Linked DNA regions of Homo sapiens: regions 2 and 3 are each linked to region 1. Evidence: promoter capture Hi-C in human tissues and cell types (Jung and others, 2019). All regions are on one chromosome and are shown on one strand. The core of a region is centred on a gene start or on the middle of the fragment in contact, and the rest is flanking DNA. Distances in the headings are between cores, read along the strand shown.

The links. Contacts are between HindIII fragments. The study calls those that stand out against the background at their distance.
Region 2: a contact is called between a fragment that was not itself captured here and the fragment with the promoter of CST4 in region 1, in 6 of the 25 tissues and cell types used here (H1 embryonic stem cells, heart right ventricle, mesenchymal stem cells and 3 more).
Region 3: a contact is called between a fragment that was not itself captured here and the fragment with the promoter of CST4 in region 1, in 5 of the 25 tissues and cell types used here (H1 embryonic stem cells, dorsolateral prefrontal cortex, heart left ventricle and 2 more).

The regions. Positions count from the first base shown.
Region 1 is chr20:23,687,734-23,690,433 of GRCh38, forward strand. It overlaps CST4 (cystatin S), which reads right to left and starts at 1,305. Exons shown (of 3, transcript NM_001899.3): 1 at 1,009-1,305. The coding sequence starts at 1,236. The HindIII fragment of the contact is 7,573 bases long and covers 1-2,700 here.
Region 2 is chr20:23,764,072-23,766,771 of GRCh38, forward strand. No RefSeq gene overlaps it. Among named protein-coding and RNA genes, the nearest start is that of CST1, 14 kb to the left of the region's middle. RefSeq lists an enhancer at 356-1,220. The HindIII fragment of the contact is 4,040 bases long and covers 1-2,700 here.
Region 3 is chr20:23,814,538-23,817,237 of GRCh38, forward strand. All of the region lies in intron 1 of LOC105372575 (a long non-coding RNA gene), which reads left to right. Among named protein-coding and RNA genes, the nearest start is that of CST2, 11 kb to the right of the region's middle. The HindIII fragment of the contact is 7,850 bases long and covers 1-2,700 here.

The DNA of each region.
Region 1 (2,700 bases), core at 55-2,554:
ACACTACGTGGCAGAGCTGTGGAGAAACCTGGGATGAGGGACTCTTTGGAACCAGGAGGAACTGCTGAGATCCCTCGAGTATCAGTTTACCCATGTATAAAATAGGCTTCCAGGTCTGATGGTCTGCAATGCCCTGTGCTTCACTCCAAGTTACTGTCATGCTTAAGAGGGAGATGCAGGCCAGCGGGGACCATGGCACCAGGGAGTGCACCTCCTGTGCAGGGTGAGGGCTCCAGCTGACAGCTGTAGGAGGAGAAACGGGACTGGTCTGGATTCCTTTGAATTTCTAGAAGGTGGAGGAGCTCTAAAGGCTGTGTCACTATTTGCTGCTCTGCCATGGGATGCAGGTCAAGCTGGGCCCAGTTGCCCTGCTGAAGCTCACTCTGGACCTAACCCCTCCTCTGCTCTGCTGGGTGACTGCTGTCCTCATCTGGCTGAGGTCTAACTCTGCATCAGCTCGTAGAGGCAGGGCCAGGCGTGCTCCACCCCAGCAGGGACTCAGCCATCCTGGCCTGCAGGGGTGGGTCAGCCTGCCTGAGGGTGAAGGCCACTAGCCCTAAGGGGCTGTGCCCAAGGGCATGACTTGGGGAAGGAAGAAGGGCTCTGCAGAACAGGGAGCCAGGTTCCCATGTGGCCCCTGAGGAGAGGACTCAGGGAGGAGAATGAGCCTCACCGCCTGGATCTCATCCTGAGCAGCATCAAGCCCACCCAGAGTCAGCACAGTCTCCATCCACACCTGCTGGACGCTGGGAAATGCCACGGTCATGGTACAGACACAGCAGCTGCTGCAGGTTAAAGGAAGCTGCAGCACTTCCTTTAACTGTCTGCAGTGCATGGACCGGGAGCATGCTTAGGCATGAAGGGCATCAGCGGAGAGTCAGAGAAAGCTGAATGAATCTGAGCATTAGATCATGAATGTGTCAGTGTTGATTTGCTTGGAATGCTCTTGGGGGTCCGGCAACAAACCAGGCTAGGGCTCAGGACCCCTCGGGTGGAGGCAGCACCCACCTGCTCCCTGGCTCGCAGCACCTGCAGCGGGCGTCTGTAGTACTCATCTTCGGTGGCCTTGTTGTACTCGCTGATGGCGAAGTGAAGGGCACGCTGTACCCACTCATCATTGAGGTCTGCATCATAGATGCCACCTGGGATTATCCTATTCTCCTCCTTGGAGCTCGAGGCCAGAGCCCCAGCCAGGGTAGCCATCAGGAGTAGCAGGGTACACAGAGGCCGGGCCATGGTCTCCTCAGAGGCAGAGCACAAAGCTGGAGCTGCAGGAGAGGAGGGTGAGAGCCCGAGGCAGGGAGCCCAGACCAGCAGGCAGGTGTGCATTTATCCTGCTTTGGCAGCCCAGCCCCACCCACCTCCATGCCCTGCCCCTGACTCCTCCTCCTCTTTCTGCCCATCCCCTCTTTCTCCATCTCTCTTTTCACTCCCCCACCACTACAAGCTCCCTCCCTGCCTAAGTTCCCCCTGCCCCTCCCAGGCCTCCTCCTCCATCTCCCCCTCCTCCCCACTCCAGTCCTCACTGCAGCCTCCCTGAGCCATGCCTCTCTTCCCCAGTGCTCCCAAGCTTGAGTCACCCAGGTCTCCACAGAGGTGACACTGGTCCTTTGACTGTGAAAGCAATGTGACTTCCTGTTTGCTCAGAAAGGGGAAAAATACAGGGCTTGGCCTCCCGGGGTCTTCAGATATCAGAGGCTTCCAGGAGCACTTGGTCACGGTCTCTGAATCTCTGGAACAGAGAGGTTATTTCAGAAGGTTCCAGAAGACCCTGTCCACACCCTAATATGGAGAATTTCTTTGCCAAATTTAAGGGAATTAACCTTTTTGGAAAAGGTCACTGGCTTCTGTTTTCATAACTCATTATTCAATAAACAAACCTATCACCAGTTACTGCCCATGCCAGGAGGTCTAGGGCTTGAAGACGGAACCTGGATGATGAGCCATAGAGGTGACATTGCAGAGCTGCTGCCCACAGAGATGTGACATGAACCCACAAGCATTTGAAAATTTCTAGTAGATGCATTTTAAAAGATGAGAATAAATGGGTGAAAGTAATGTTTAAAATATTTATTTAACCTAATATAGCCACAATATTATTTCAGCTAACGGGAACAATTATTAATGAGATCGTTTATGTGTGTTTTTTTTTTTTGGTTTTGTAAATCTTTGAAATTCCCTGTGTATTTTTTACACTTAGCCCAGGAATCATTTTGGACTGGCCCCATTTCAAGTGTCCTGTGGCACATGTGGCTGGTGGCTGTGGAACTGCACAGTAAATTCCTACACAGTGTGTGTAGAGGATGGTAGGTTACGATCAACAATTAGGATCAGGGAGTTATACTCACTCTGTTGGAAGTGAAATAGAACAGGGGCTAGAGAGAGACCACTGGACCCTGGTCAGGGTGGTCTCTATGAGACTGGAGAGGTTGAGCAGCCCCAGGCAGCGGGGAACAGCCAGTGCAAAGGCCCTGAGGTGGGGTTGGGACATGCCTGCTCCAGGAAGAGGAAGCTCCTGGAGGGGATGTGAGCAAGGGAGGAAACCACCTGGAGTCTCACGGTAACTGTGGGTGAGGACCGGTGGAAGGTGCACGGAGACCCCTGTGAGGCAGTGGGGGTGTCAGGAGAGGGAGCAGCAGCCACGGGATGAATGTGGGAACCCACAGGCCTCTCTTGCTTCTCTCCTAGGCAGCCATGCTT
Region 2 (2,700 bases), core at 201-2,700, 76 kb after region 1:
AGGGGTAGAAATGGAAAGAAAAACAATGATATAGAGAAAGATAGAAAAAAAATTCTGTCTGCATGAAAATAATTTCAAAAATTAGAAGTGTCAATGTGTCCAGATGAGAAAAAAACAGCACAAGAATCCTGGCACCATGAAACATCTGAATATTGTGAGACCATCAAGGATCTCACTATCTCCCCAGCAATGGTTCCTAACCAAAATGAAAACTCAAAAATGACAGATAAAGAATTCAAAGCATACATTGCTAAGAAGCTCAATGAGATCCAAGACAATATTCAAAATCAACAAAAACAAATTTCTTAAGCAATCCAGGAGATGAAGAAAGAAATACACATTTTAAAAAGAAATCAATCAGAGTTTGTGGAATTGATAAACTCCACTTAAGGAATTTCAAAATACAGTTGAAAGCTTTATTATTAGACTAGACCAAACAAAAAAACCACTTCAGAGCTTGAAGATTGGTACTTTGAACTAACCCAGACAGACAAAAATAATGAACAGTCTCTGAGAAATATGAAATTATATAAAATGACCAAACCTCTGAATTGTTAGCATTCCTGAGAGACAAGGAGAAAACATAAACAATGTGGGAAACATATCTGAGGTAATCCAAGAAAATTTCCCTAATCTTGCTAGTGTCATAGACATCTAGACACAAAAAATGAAGAGAACACCTGCGAGATACTGTCAGGACTCTGAGCCTAAGCTAAGCCATCATATCCTCTGTGACTTGCAGGTACACATCCAGATTGCCATTTCCTGCCTTAACTGATGACATTCCACCACAAAAGAAGTGAAAATGGCCTGTTCCTGCCTTAACTGAAGACATTGTCTTGTGAAATTCCTTCTCCTGGCTCATCCTGGCTCAAAAGCTCCCCTACCGAGCACCTTGTGACCCCCACTCTCCTGCCCACCAGAGAACAACCCCCCTTTGACTGTAATTTTCCTTTACCTACCCTAATCTTATAAAACAGCCCCACCCCATCTCTCTTTGCTGACTCTCTTTCAGACTCAGCCTGTCTGTCTGCATCCAGGTGATTAAAAGCTTTATTGCTCACACAAAGCCTGTTTAGTGGTCTCTTCACACAGACGCACATGAAAGATACTACACAAAATGAACATCAATGCCTATAGTCACCAGGTTTTTCAAGGTCAATTATATAAAAAATCTAAAAGCATCTAGAGAAAAATGTCAGATAATGTACAAAGGAAGCCCCATCAGTTTAACTGCAAAGTTCTCAGTGGCAACTGTACAAGTCAGAAGTGATGGGAGCCTATTTTCAGCATTTTTAAAGACAAGAAAATTCAACCAAGAATTTCATATTCTGTCAAACTAAGCTTTAGAAGCAAAGAGAAATAAAATGTTTTTCAGGCAAACAATCACTAAGGAAATTTGTTACCACTAGACCAGCCTTACATGAGATTCTTCAGGAAGTACTACACATGGAAACAAAAGATCCCTGCTACCATAAAAACAAACTTAAGTACATAGTCCACAGACCTTAAATGACCATACGTAGTCATAGTTATAATTTTTCCCATTGTACAGATGAGTTAACTGAGTCTCCTCGAGATGACATCCCTCGCTCTCTCAGCAGGGGCTCCATCCACCAGTTTCCCCTTTACCAGTGAGACTTCATTCTCTCAGCTACTGGGAGTGTGGCCGCTGATGGCTCACAGTTGAGTCCTTCTGTGGGCATTGATCTGAGTCAAAGGAAGCTGCTTTGTCCAAGTTCATGCCCCTCCTGGAATTGCCTATTTTAAATAATAGGTCTATATGCGGGTACAAAATGTTGACTCTTTTGCCCTGATATGCTACCACTCTGAGGCCATCCCCATTGCAGAGCTCTCCATGGGCCTGGCTGTGGCTGTCATCTGCTGAGCTGCACCCCTGCCTGACTTCTTCCTCTGCCCTACCCCATGCCCCTGCCTCCCCAGCACATGCCTCAGTGAGCCTCTTGCCCATGAATCTCCATCTGGGTCTGTTTCCAGGAACCCTAACCAAGAGATGGTGGAGTCAGGACTCACACCACAAATATCCTGCCTTTTAAACTACAGTGGGTGTTAGGTCTGTGAATGTTTGGAGGGTGGAGCAATTCTTGTCTAGGAGACTGGATGTCTCTCTTCTCAGGATTCAAGGGGTAGGATGTTCCAAATGCATTCAGACCTGAGACTTATTTGGAAAAATGGTGTTTTATCTGGAAAGTTCCCTGTTCTTGAAAATCTCTCACTCAGCAGGACTATTTTTCCCTCCTTACTCCTTAGTAAAATGAAAACCAAAGCTTCCATTTGCATTGGTCTTGGTGAAATATTTCACTTACCAAATTTCTTTGGATCTACCTGATGGGGAAGGCTAGGCAGGTAACACAAACCCTTTGTAATTTTGAGGAAATATGTAGAAGGCAATTTGGGGACAATAAGCCAGGTCATGTAATTTTCAGATACATTTTGTTCACATTGCACAATAAGCTTCATTTGCCACCCTGGCTCTGGGACTGGCACTTAGTGATGTGTCAGCTCCATCATTCCTGGAAGTATCCTGGCTGCAGAGAGGAAGAGTCCTGAGAAACACAGGCTACCTCTCCCATGATGACACTGGTCATTTACCAAAGGCCATGGGGGTGGTGTTCACAGAGTTGGTGCAGTGTCCTCAGCAGGGGCCCAGGTGGTTTCCTTCCATCTTCTCCATCATTC
Region 3 (2,700 bases), core at 176-2,675, 130 kb after region 1:
CTCACTGGAGGGTCAATTGATCCTAAAAGAGAAGTTTATTACCCAATCAGCTGCAGACATCAGGAGAAAGCTCCAAAAGTAAGCCATGGGCCCTGAACAAAATCTGAAGACATTATTAAACCTGGCAACTTCAGTGTTCTATAATAGGGACCAAGAGGAACAGGCCCAAAAGGAAAAGCAAAATCAGAGAAAGGCCACAGCTTTAGTCATGGCCTCAGACAAACAAACACTGGTGGTTCAGAGAGGACAGAAAATGGAGCAGGCCAATCACCAGGTAGCGCTTGTTATCAGTGTGGTTTACAAGGACACTTTTAAAAGATTGTCCTATGAGAAACAAGCTGCCTCCTCGTCCGTGTCCACTATGCCGAGGCAATCACTGGAAGGCACATTGCCCCAGAGTGCAATGGTTCTCTGGGCCAGAAGCCCCCAATCAGATGATCCAACAACAAGACTGAGGGTGCCCGGGGCAAGTGCCAGCTCATGTCATTACTCTCACTGAACCCCGGGTATGTATAACCATTGAAGGCCTGGAAATTGACTTCCTCCTGGACACTGGCACAGCTTTGTCAGTGTTAATCTACTGTTCTGGACAGCTGTCCTCAAGGTCTGTTACCATCTGAGGAATCCCGGGACAGGTATTTCTCCCACTTCCTCAGTTGTAATTGGGAGACTTTGCTCTTTTCACATGTCTTTCTTGTTATGCCTGAAAGTTCCATACCCTTATTAGGGAGGGATATATTAGCCAAAGCTGCAGCTATTATTTACATGAATATGGGGGAAAAGTTACCCATTTGTTGTCCCCTGCTTGAGGAGGGAATCAACCCTGAAGTCTGGGCATTGGAAGGAACAAACTCAAGCTCCAGCCTTAAACCTTCCCACAGGACAAAACTTCTCTTTATACATCACAAGGAGAGCAGGAATAGCTCTTGGAGTCCTTACTCAGACTCGTGGGACAACCCCACATCAGTGGCATACTTAAGTAAGGAAGTTGATGTGGTAGCAAAAGGCTGGCCTCACCATTTATGGGTGGTTGTGGTGGTGGCCATCTTAGTGTTAGAGGTTATCAAAATAATACAAGGAAAGGATCTCACTGTCTGGACTACTCATGATGTAAATGACATACTAGGTGCCAAAGGAAGTTTATGGTTATCAGACAACCATCTACTTAGATACCAGGCCCTACTCTTTGAGGGACTGGTGCTTCAAATATGTACATGCATGGCCCTCAACCCTGCCACTTTTCTCCCAGAGGATGATGAGCCAATCAAGCATGACTGCCAACAAATTATAGTCCAGATTTATGCCACCTGAGATGATCTCTTAGAAGTCCCCTTAACTAATCCTGACCTTAACCTATATACTGATGGAAGTTTATCTGTGGAGAATGGGATATGAAGGGCAGGTTATGCCATAGTAACAGTACTTGAAAGTAAGGCCTCTTCCCCCAGGGACCAGCGCCCAGTCAGCAGAACTAGTGGCATTTACCCAAGCTTTAGAACTGGGAAAGGGAAGAAGAATAAATATGTATACAAATAGCAAGTATGCTTATCTAATCCTACATGCCCATGCTGCAATCTGGAAAGAAAGGAAGAACCCCCATTAAATACTACAAGGAAGCCATGGAGTTATTGCATGCAGTGCAAAAATCCAAGGAGGTGGCAGTCTTACACTGCCAAACCCATCAAAAGGGGAAGGAGAGGGGAGAACAGCAGCATAAGCAGCTGGCAGAGGCAGGGAAAGACCAGCAGAAAGGAAAGAGAGAAAGAGACAGAAAGTTAGAGAAAGAGACAGAGAGAGGAAGAGAGAGAGAAAAAAGGAGTCAGAGAGAAAGAAAGAAAGAGACAAAGTCAAAGAGACAGAGGAAGAGAGAGAGACAAAGAGGGAGTCAGAAGAGAGAAAAAGAGAGACACAGAAAGTCAAAGAGAGAGAGGAAGAGACAGACAAAGAGAGAAACAAAGAGAAAGACAAAGAAAGAGAGAGACAAAGAAATCAAAGAGAAAGAGAGAAGTAGTAAAGAAAAAAGTGTACCCTATTCCTTTAAAAGCCAGGGTGAAATTAAAACCTATAATTGATAAATGAAGGTTTTCTCTGTAACCCTATAACACTCCAATACCACCTTGTCAGTGTAAACAAGGGTGTAGCCTGAAAGCACTGAGGCCACTGACAACCTGTAGCCTTCCTATCAAAAATCCTTAACCCAGTAGGTTTCCTAACAGGGGATCTAAATCTTAATTAATTACTATACAAAGGTCCGACCAGATCTAGGAAGAACTCTCTTCAGGATAGGAGGATAGATGGTTCCTCCCAGGTGATAAAGGAAAAAGACACAATGGGTATTCAGTAAGTGATAAGGAAAATCATAGAATCAGAATTAGGAAAATTTTCTAATAATTGATCTGCTCAAGGGTGCGAGCTGTTTGCACTAACCCAAACCTTAAAGTACTTACAGAATCAGGAAGGAGCCATCCATACCAGTTCTAAGTTAATATGGACTGAACGAGGTCTTATTAATAGTGAAGAATAATTGAAATTCCAAACTTAAAAGGTTTTCAACAAAAGTAAAGTTTGCTAAAAGTTAACAGTGCAAACATATATTATCCTAACTTCTAGTCTTGTGAAATCAGACCCTATCAGTACCCTATAACTGATATTATAGCCCAAGTATAATTGATATTATAGCTCAATTACCCTATAACTGAT